Regions from separate parts of the Homo sapiens genome. Here region 2 is linked to region 1. The links are contacts of gene promoters, found by promoter capture Hi-C in blood cells and fetal thymus (Javierre and others, 2016). All regions are on one chromosome and are shown on one strand. Each heading gives the region's core, a stretch centred on a gene start or on the middle of the fragment in contact. The rest is flanking DNA. Distances are from core to core; before and after follow the strand shown. Region 1 holds the start of RGS10 (regulator of G protein signaling 10). Region 2 overlaps GRK5 (G protein-coupled receptor kinase 5).

Evidence for each region. Contacts are between HindIII fragments. The CHiCAGO score rates a contact against its expected background, and 5 or more counts as called.
Region 2: a contact is called between a fragment that was not itself captured here and the fragment with the promoter of RGS10 in region 1, in 1 of 17 cell types (activated CD4 T cells). The highest score is 5.2, in activated CD4 T cells.

Annotation. Positions count from the first base shown.
Region 1 is chr10:119,541,090-119,546,744 of GRCh38, forward strand. It overlaps RGS10 (regulator of G protein signaling 10), which reads right to left and starts at 1,630. Exons shown (of 5, transcript NM_001005339.2): 1 at 1,501-1,630. The coding sequence starts at 1,549. RefSeq lists silencers at 1,083-1,252, 1,303-2,042, 2,053-2,122, 2,173-2,332 and enhancers at 2,543-2,622, 2,885-3,393. The HindIII fragment of the contact is 10,649 bases long and covers 1-4,511 here.
Region 2 is chr10:119,317,857-119,323,002 of GRCh38, forward strand. All of the region lies in intron 1 of GRK5 (G protein-coupled receptor kinase 5), which reads left to right. Among named protein-coding and RNA genes, the nearest start is that of GRK5-AS1, 19 kb to the right of the region's middle. RefSeq lists enhancers at 1-114, 115-748. The HindIII fragment of the contact is 775 bases long and covers 2,090-2,864 here.

The sequences.
Region 1 (5,655 bases), core at 380-2,879:
GTTTGAGCCAGCTCCAGCACATCACTGAAACGGAGGCACAGAGAGATCAAGTAATTTGCCCAGTGTTGCTGAATGACAGAGTCAAGGTTAGAACCAAGAGTTTAATTCGAGTCCAGGCTCTGAGCAGCGCTCCACAGGCCTGTGCCAACCATAGAGACTGGTTAACATTAACACCCACAAGGGAATTCTTTGACTCACATGCAACACAAAAAGGTTTACATGACCACTAACGCTAACGGAGCACTTAGTACTTGCCGGGCAACAATGTAAGATCATTACAACAACCCTATGAAATCCTACATATTAAATACAATAATTTGCAAAACCTGATGGATGGAAGACAGGTTCCAATTAAGTACTTTAAAAGGCGAGTAGCTACTGTTATTCCCACTGTGCAGAACCTCATTCTGCAGAAAGGTCCCACGGCTGGTGAATATGGCGAAGGTGAGATTCGGATCCAGCCAGTCTGGTCCCAGTCTCTAAACCACAATGTCCCTCATAAAATACCAGGAGCAGAAAGGAAATGCACCAACGCGTTGGGACTCTGAGCGCCAAGCAGAAGTGAATCTTGGCGTGGGAAGCCCGGCAAAGCCCCCGAACTTCAGAGTCAGGGGAACCTGGGTTTGAAAGCCTCCCCATCACCTGCGGAGTGTGACTGGGGCAAGTTACCTAACAGCGCCTGGCTTCCGCTCCCTCCTCACTCACCGGGTTGTCCTAGGGGTGAAGGGAGAGTTCACCCAACGCGGTGGACAAAGCCCTTGGCGCACCCAAAGGCCTGCACAGGTCGTAGCTATTGTGATGAGCAAAAGGGTGGAAGGACCGGAATCAAGGGCACGGCTCCACCTTCACCGTGGGGTCTTTGGCCTATCAAGTTGCCCGAGATCGTGGCTCAGGCTGGCCCAAAGTGACGGCCAAGGCGAATCCTTCGTAACGTCAGAACTTCGCTGGCTCGGACCGCAGAAGTGCCCTTCTCCATCCTGGGGTTCCGCCACCCTCGCGATCCCACCTTTTGGCTCCTCGCGGCAGAAGCGAAGGCCCCCGACGCCCCAGGCCCAGGGGCCCAGTCGGATGCCCGGGTCCAGCCGTGCTCCCCCGGGCGCTCGGCATCCTTCCACCCACGCCCGCAGCGGAGGCGGAGAGCGTCACGGAGGGAGAAGCCCGCGCGCCGTTCCGCTTTCGGAATCTGGAGCCCCATGTCACCTCCAAAGTTTGGAGATTTGGGGCGCTCCTTTTTCTCCCAGACCATCACTAAAAAGAAAACTGCGGCTGTTCCTCTTTCAGCCAAACTTCCTCCCCGGGGCTCCCGGAGGAGCTCTGCGCTCCCGTCGCGGCTGGGACCGCGAAGGTGCGGTACCCAGCGGGGAGAGGTGGTGCGGTCGGCCGGGGCTCCAGTCTGGGAGGTACCACCGAGCCGCGCCCGAGCACAAGAGGGAGGGCAGGAGGCCGGGCGGGCGAAACGGCGCCCCGACCCCGAGCCCGCGGGCCCCCGAAGCCGCTTACCTGACGGCGGCCGCTTCCTGCTCAGCCGGCTCACGGCGCGGTTGAACATCGCCGCGGGCGCCCGAGGAGGAAGAAGGAGCAGCCCGGCGGCGCGGCGGCTGAGCCGGAGGAAGGCGAGGAGGAGGAGGAGGGCGAGGAGGAGGAGGAGGAGGGCAAGGAGGAGGAGCGGGCTCAGCACCGCCCCGGAGCTCTAGGTCCCCGCCCGCCGCCCTCCTCCTAGCCAGGCGCCGCGTGGCGCGCTCAGTGCGCCCTGCCCGCCCCCGCTGGTGAGGACTCGCGGTTCCGCTCCGGGGTGCCCGGGCGGGGCAGGGCAGGGCAGCCCCGGGTGACCCCCGATCGCCCAGAGTGTGCCCCGCGCCTGGGATAAGGTGCACTGGCCCAGAGGGAGCCCGCGCCGCCGGGAACTTAGTAGCCCCGCGGAGGCGGTTAGCGCGTCCCGGGGTCCCTGGCCCTCGCCTGAGATGCCGCCCCGGCCCGCCCCGCCCAGCTTCAAGCTCCCGGGCCCATCGCGGTCTCCCGCCTTCTCCCTGTAGCCCCGGAGAAACTGGCACGGCGCCGCGGGCGCACCGCGCTTCGGGGCTCTCAGCGAGCCTTCGCAGGTGGCGGGCGGGGTCCCCTCCCGGGTCACAGGCTGGGAAGCCTAGGCCTCGCGGTTCTGCAGAGTCCGGGCGCGGCCCAGCCTGTGGCCTTTGCCTCCTCGTCACCAGGATCCCCGCCTGCTGGGGCCTGGCTGCTCCTCGACTTCGTGGGCGCTGCGCCTTCCCGCCCCGCGAATGCGGGTGGGGCGTCCCCAGGGCCCGTGCGCTGAGCTAGCCGAGCCGCCGCGGGTGGGCGCCCTCTCCCCGGCCGTGCCGCGCGGGCGCCAGGACTCGGGGAGATCTGAGAGGATTCTGCAGGAACCCCCCGGTTCCTGCGCCGGGCGGTGCTCTGTCCCGCACACCGCGCTCTCGGGACACTTCTCTAACTTTGGGGACACGTGGGCACTGCCTCTGGCAGGGCCTTCAGGCTCCACGACCGGGACCACTCAAGCCCCCACGGCGTCACCTGCTGGGCGCTGCGCGCTCTACGGTCTCCTATTATTTCATTTCTTCTATGGAGCAGCCCCAGAGGGGATGTCATTAGCCCCCATTTTCTTGAACATTTGGTTTGCAAGAAATTGTCTTTCTGGCGAGTTTTATTTTTCTCCTTGTGTATCTGGCTTTGTCTCTAAATTGGTCTTTATTTTTAGCTGTACTAATTGCTATTTTTCCAAACCGTTCCCCAGTCGCCCTCCCCCCATCCCCCCGTCCTTTTGCAGTTTTTTTCACTACTTGGCACTTTCTTTTGTATCTTCTATTCTGAGCTTCCAGTTCTGCTCACTTTCCCTCTCCCTCTACCCACCCCACAGCCCCAGTTGCACCCCAAGTGTGGCCGGTGGTTGCTTGTTGTTTCCCTCCCCGCTATTCCCCCTCCAAAAGTCGTTTTCCTCCGAGCATTTCCAAGCACTCTCCCCCTTCTGCTGCCAAAAGAGGATTTCCAGGCTCCTGAAGCGAACGCGGTGACCAAGAACAGGGTTAGACCCAGCGCGGGGAGTTCTGCTTTTAAAACTGCTGTTGTTGGCCTACTCCGGGCCCAGACAAACTTCCATCTCATTGTAATGGGATCAAGCTGTGATACTTAACTATAGGCAAGAGTTTCACCTTTCGTAAGAGCGGGATTTTAAATGCTGGCAGAGTCCTGGATCCAAGTGAGGTCACTGCGTTCTTAAAACAATAAGGGAATTGGTGCAACGCACTCACCCAGAAAACTTCCCCGAGACCAAATTACAAGTAATCCTAAGACAGGAAATAAGCACACTGGCACACAGGGGTAAAAGTTAGGCACAGCAGCTCAGTGTTTTGCTAGTTGCCAAGTCCACCCTAGCGTGTCCTGAAAAACACTGGTGTGGCTTAAGACATGCTATGAATCCCTCCTGAGCTAAGAACCCCAGGCATCTCTTAAATAAAGGGAAAATATAACAGCCTTAAATCACTTTTACTGTCCTGTTAGCACATCAGAGAGTAAGTACAAAAATTAAGATGCATAGTTAGGGCCAGGCGCTGTGGCTCACGTCTGTAATCCCAGCACTTTGGGAGGCAGAGGCAGGCGGATTACCTGAGGTCAGGAGTTCAAGACCAGCCTGGCTAACATGGTGAAGCCCCATCTGTACTAAAAATACAAAAATTAGCCAGGCCTGGTGGCAGGTGCCTGTAATCCCAGCTACTCAGGAGGCTGACACAGAAGAATCACTTGAGCCTGGGAGGAGGAGGTTGCAGTGAGCCAAGATCTGAAGGAGGAGGTTGCAGTGAGCTGAGATCTCACCACTGCACTCCAGCCTGGGCCACAGAGCAAGACTCTGTCTCCAAAAAAAGGAAAAAAAGGCCGGGTGCGGTGGTTCACACCTGTAATCCCAGCACTTTGGGAGGCCAAGGCGGGCGGATCACCTGAGGTCGGGAGTTCGAGACCAGCCTGACGAACATGGTGAAACCTCATCTCTACTAAAAATACAAAATTAGCCAGGCGCGGTGGCAGGCATCTGTAATCCCAGCTACTCAGGAGGCTGAGGCAGGAGAATCGCTTGAACCCGGGAGGCAGAGTTTGCAGTGAACTGAGATCGAGCCATTGCACTCCAGCCTGGGTGACTGAGCAAGACTCCATCTCAAAAAAAAAAAAAAAAAAAATGCATGGTTAACGTTTAAGTGCACAGTTTAAAATTTTTGCCTGGGACATTGAAATTGCTATAAATACCTGTTTTAAGTGTCTGAAGGTTCAAAAGCCAGTTTTCAAAGTGTATTGTGCAAAAGACCACGTATAAAAGTATAAAGCCTCCTAACTCCTAAAACTCGCCAAATGCACACACACATACACACACACACTCACACACACACACACACACACACACACGATTAAGTTCCAACCGTGGTTTGCATTGGATTGAAGGTGCTCACCATCCCAATGGCATTTTTCCTGTAATTCCAGCATGCACTTTCTGAAGCTTTTTTTTTTTTTTTTTTTTTTTTTTGAGACAGAGGTTTCACTATGTTGTCCAGGCTGATTTCTGACTTCTGGGCTCTCAAGTGATCCTCCCTCCTTAGCCTCCTAAGTCAAGCCTTCACAAACAAACTGCGGTAGCCAGTGTGGGGAAGAAGAGGATGAGCGGTTTAGCCCCTTTCTTCCCCTGCTGGTCTCACTTTTGGTTCAAGGATGTTTACATCAGGCAAGAAGCAAGAGCCCCGGATGTCTTCTGGTAACACAAGATTTCAGAGGGATTACTGGCTTTGGAGTTCAATATTTTCATTCTACCCAGAAACTAAAATATTGGTAAGCTGTGAATACATTTTAGAGCCTCTCATCACCAGAATTTATGTAACAAGACTATTCTAGGCCAGTTGAGGCAGACAAGGTATAGTAAAATGAATAAGTGGCCAACTTAAAGTCAAGAGACCTGGGTACTAATCTGACCAAACAGCAACCAGCTGTGTGGACACACCAGATGTGTCCTCAAACACATCGTAGCCTCAAGGGACAGGGCAAGGAGAGGTCCACCTACACTCCGAGCAAGTGGTATTCAATAGCAATAAACAAAAAAGCATCTGGCATCGTGCCCAGCACATGTAGGCACACAAAAAATTACTGGAATTTTAATTACTCTTACTCCCCCTACAATGATGTTTTAATAAATGATAAACTTTATGGTACAGCCAGTCAAAAGTGGATTTCTTTTCAATTATAGGAAATTGGCAGGGTTAGTAACACTGATGTTCACATTGTTACTACACTGTGAAGGAGGGAAAGTAAATTGTTACAACCTCTCTAGAAGGAAGAGAAGCAGATGTGTTAATATATGTATTTGACAACACATGTAAGAGTCTTCAAAATGTTTATACCTCTTGGACTAGTGAATAATTCTATAATTGGTAATTTGTGCCAAAAGAAAAACAATAAATGATGCGAACATTTACGTGTACAATTAAACATAACACTTCCTTTTATCAGGGTTATTTACAGTAGCTAAAAATGCCCGCTAAGAGAATGACTAAGGTATAACATATTCTCCTGATAGAATATTTAACAGTTATAAAAAACTGTGAAGAATCTTTGGAACTTGGTGGAAAAAACTAGTGCAAAGAGAAAGAT
Region 2 (5,146 bases), core at 1,227-3,726, 220 kb before region 1:
TCACTGATTTCCAGGCACTTTCTCTTGACTTACAGCAGTGGTTCTCAAAGTGAGAGTGCATCAGAATCACCTGCAGAGCTCATTAAGTTACTGATGCTGGCCCATCCCCAGAGTGTCTGATTCTGTAGGTCCAGGGTGGGGCCCAGGAAGCTGCATTTCTAACTGGCTCCCAGCGATGCTGATGCTGCTGGTCCAAGGACCACCGAGAACCACTGACTTAAGGGCAAGAAGGAAGCTCCTTCCAACAAATGCATGGAACCTTCCTCAGTTTCCCCCGTGGAACCTTTCTCTGATCGATTGCACATTTGTCACCAGGGAGGAAAAGAACATTAGACTAAGAGTCAGAACAGCAGAGCCCTGGTTCAGGTTATGATACACACTCCCTGATTGAGGCAAGGTTCTTTCCTTTCTGGGACTCTATTTCTGAATCTGTCAAACGGGTTCAATACTAGGACCTACGTCACGGGGGTGATGTGAGGATTGAACTAGATGACATGTTACTGGTGCAAATTCCCTGACTCTGAGGGTACAGCAAAGGCCATATAAGCAGTCCAGGGTCAGTTGTTTTGCACAGGTCTATCCCATCCCTCCCAAGGATGGTATGTGAACCTGTTGGGCTTAAAGGAACCCAGTAAGTTAGACCTTAGACCGTCCACATCACCAGTATTGCGGGCTTTGTCAGTGTCCTTTGGAGGAGGGGGCTGGGCTGGCAGTTCCACTCCACTGTGCCAGGTGATCACAGGGCTCTGGGGGCTGTAGGCCGCTCACTGCTCAGAATCCATCATCGCTGCACCCCAGCCGCATCCCACTGGGCTGACACTGCCACAGGGACAATGCCTTCCTGGAGCTCAGGTCGTCCCACTGCCCTCCCCACAAGCACTGCACCTCCCCCATCCTCAGCTTCTCCCTTCTGTTCTCCACACCGGTTCATTTCAGCCCCTGCCTTGAAAACACAAACACCACTCTCAGAAACAGCAAAGGCAACAAGAATAACAGCAAGCCAGTTTCTTCCCCCACCAAGACAGCCTCTTCTCCCATGGCAGTTTTTTGGGTGGAATGATACCGTTATTCTTCCCTGGGTTAGCCACAGGAGCAAAAGAAACGCTTTAGTCTCTCAGTAGCTCACTGTGACAAGTGCTTGGCCCGTGCTTAAGAATCAGTGGCTTTTTATTATTACTTGGCTTCTGCCTTCCATCAGGCACTCCTTTCCCTGATAGGACATGCCCTCCTCCTGCGGGGCCCCCACCCTCCTTTGTTGGCCACTCTCCTTCCTCCTGCCCTGCCTTCCCCTTAACATACTTCCCCAGTCTGGCAGGAGGGCACCTGCTGGAGGACATCGCTGGCAGCTGGCAGCCGAGGGGGCCCCCAGGGCTGGAGAAAGCAGGAGTGAGAGTGGGATTGGACAAGCAATGCCCTCCCTAGAGTCTGTCCCTTCTAAAGGGCCAGTGGCAGCCCGAGCCATGAATCAGGGGACACGCCATCTTGCTGTTGTCCGCCTTTCTCCAGGTTTTGTCTTGGACTCCTTCCGATCCGAGGCCACCTTGGTCCTCTGGTGCCTTCCCCAGAGCGGGAGCCCCCCTGATCGGCCCTGGGCCTCGGTCACTGCCATTTTCCCTTGCCTGGCGGGGCAACCCTTCTCCATGCAACCTCTCCTACCTGCCTGGCTACAACCCCAGCTGTCTTGCTCATCTTTGCTCTTTGATGCATGGAATGAGCTGGATGAGGTCAGGGACCATGTCCTCTTCCCTGACTCATTACGGGTACCTGGAAGGTAAACCCTGAACAGCAGAGGATCCTTTGGGAAAGCAAATAAAGCCGGAGGCTCCTCGGGACAGGAAATAGCGGTGAGCCAGTGCCAGCAGAAGATTGTGCTCCCGCCTGGGTGTGTGGCTTATTCCCTGGCTCCATTAATTCCTCTCCCTGAGCCTCAGCTTTCTCATCTGTGAATAGGGTCAGTACCTCCTGAATGAGGGCCAAATGTACAGTGCCCAGGTCAGTGCTCAGCCCAGAAGGCTGGCAGGGAGGGAGGTTGTCATTTATTCCTGCAAGCATTCATGCCTTTACCCAGTCAGCCAAGTAACTTAATGGAAGCTTGCAATTAAACAAGAATTAGCTGCACCCGCCTCCTTCCCGGGAGCAGGTCTGACCTGAGCTGGGAGAGGATGTGATCCAGACAGGGGGCTCTGCCTTTTCAGGGCAGCATGAGAAGGGACACTAGAGCTGGAGCTTGAAGAACAAGCATTCCTGGCAGAGAAAGCCATGCCTGTAGGGTCGGAGTGGGGGAACAATGATGTATACAGGGATTGGAGGGGCTGCCAGGTGGCCAGGTGGCTGGATGTAAAGCATGACACTTGCATTCACTCAGCAGATACTGTTTGGGCTTCTACAGTGGACCAAGAAGAAGGTGACAGAGAACAAAGAAACCCAGGTCCCTGACACCACGGGTCCGCTATCAGCACAGGGGAGACTGATGACGGGCAAGGAAACAAATAAGTGGGAAGATTTCAGGTGGTGATGAGAGCTGTGGGCTGGGTCTGGGAGTCCAGCAGTCACTTGGCACGTAGAGGTTGAATGAGTCCATGAAAATGTGCTGCATGCGTTGAGAGAATGGATCTGTAAGCTGATGTGCAGTTCAACACAGAGACAGACAGACTGACCGACCAGTGCTTCCTACACACTTCCATGGCACGTGGAGAATGGGCCTGCTTCACAACCGAGCTCAGAGGAGACCTCCAGGAAGGTAGAATTCAGGCTAAGACTGGAAGTGTGGGTGAGAAACATTCGGAAAGGTAGGAAGAAGGTGCTCCTGGCAGAATGAACAGTGAGTGTAAAGGCCCTGAGAGCAGAGGCAGGGAGGGAAATAAAGCTTAGGAAGACAGTCACCGAGGCCCTGAATGGGACCAAGGAGAACGGGCTGAGCCTATGGGTGGTCAGGCCTGGGAACTGGCCATTCCTGCTGCTGGGACCTGAGCACGGGGGAGGTGGGAGGTGATGGCCCCAGCCCCTTGTAGGCCTAACACCCCTCCCCAGCAGTGAGGTGGGCCTAGGGCAGCGGGGGCCGTAGGGCCAGGTCACAGGAGGAATTTTTACAGTGGCATGGCTGGGCCCTGCCCCCTCTCAGGATACAGAGAAACAATCAAGTCCTATGAAATAATAAACAGTGCCAATACTTCAGTTATCAAATATGCAGCTTCACAACCCCGCAGCAGCTTGAGAGCCAAACATTTGTCTAGACGTGGTGCCTTCTCTGAGGCAGGTTTTGTTTGTTGTTAAGAAGTGAAACCTTCTCCCAGCCCATCTGAGTCAGGAAGGTTGGGTTTATTTCATGGCACTTTTAGAGGAACTGGAAGCCAGATATGGGGTGAGAGGCCATTCTGGGGTCTGCTGTCATTTAGGGGGATCCCCTGCTGAGAACATCCTCGTATTAGCTTCCTGTTGCTGCTGTAACAGATTGCCACAAGCTAAGTGGATTAAAACACCACACATTTAGTATCTTACCGTTCTGGAGATCGGAAGTCTGACGCACTCTCAGTGAGTTAAAGTCAAGGCATCAGCAGGGCTGTGTTCCCTCTGGGGGCTCCGGGGAGAATCCTTCCTGGCCTGCATGCCTTGGCTCGTGGCCCCTTCCCATCTTCCAAGCCAGCCAATGGCTGGTGAGTCTTCGTCACATTGCATCACTCTGACACTGGTTGCTCTTTCTCCCTCTTCCACATTTTAGGACCCTGTTGGTGACAGTGGGCCCACCTGGATAATCCAGGATTATGTCCCTATCATTATCCATAATCTCATCCACAAACTTAATGCTCATTTGTCATGGAACCTAACGTATTCACAGGTTCTAGGGATTAGGGCATCCCTGAGGGCGTTATCCTGCCCACCACAGTCCCCCTGCCCTATTCTGGAAGCTGAGGAAATAGGGTTGAGGAGGAAAGTGAGCCCAGGCCGTAGCTGGAGAGTCTGCACCCTCGGCTTGGGGCTGCCTCCAAGTGGCTTACCTTTCCCACCGCCTCCAACCCCACCACAGCTGCCCCATCACTAACAGATCTCCCCCAACCCCTGTTCTTTTCCTAAATGTTGGTAAAATGGTCATTAAGTAAAGCAGCATTTTTTCCACATCCCTACCCTTGACTTACTTTTTCTTTTGAGATGGGGTCTTGCTCTGCACCCAGGCTAGAGTGCAGTGGCATGATCATAGCTCACTGCAGCCTTGAACTTCTGGGCCCAAGCAATCCTCCTGTGCGCCACCACGCCCAGCTACTTATTTTATTTTTATTTTTAATAGAGACGGAGTCTTGCTATGTTGCCTAAGCTGGTCTAAACTCCTGGGCTCAAGCAATCCCCCCATCTTGGCCTCCCAAAGTGCTGGGATTACAGGCATGAGCCACCACATCTTGTCCCAACCCTTGACATTTTAGAGCCAACCATGCTTTGTTCCAGGGGTCTGTCCTGTGCACAGCGCAATATTTAACCACATCCTTGGCCTGCACCCACTAGCTGCCAGTAGCACCTCTCCACCCAGTGGTGACAATTAAAAATGTCTCCAGACATTGCCAAATGTTCCCTGGGAGGCCGTCGCTGGGGTTGGGAACCACTGAGGTAACGCGTTGGATGTGTCTGTCTTCCCTGCTAGCGACACTGTGTCCGGCACCTGCAGAGGGCCTGCCGCTTAGTATGTGCTCAACACATATTGGTTGAACGAATCAGTGAACCTATGTTAACTTTCTTAATGAATAAATCTATAAGTGTGCATGTATAAAATAGACTCCTGGGTTCCATAGACTGGCTGCCTGAGAGTCACCTGGGGATCCTTTTAAGAAGTCACATTCCTGGGGTCCAATCACAGAGGATTGGGGTACAGCCTAGCAATCTGTATTGTCAAGAGTGCTTCATCAGTTCCCCCAAAACTTAAACATATATACCATATAATCCAGCAATTTCCCTCCTGAGTATATACCCAAAAGAATGGAAAGCAGGGACTTGAACAGATACTTGTTTGCAAATATCCATAGCAGCGTTATACGTAATAGCTAAAAGGTAGAAACAGCCCATGTGTCTATCCACAAATGAATGATAAACAAAAAGTTGTATACCCATACAACAGAATATTATTCAGCCTTCAAAACAAATGAAGTTCTGACACATGCTC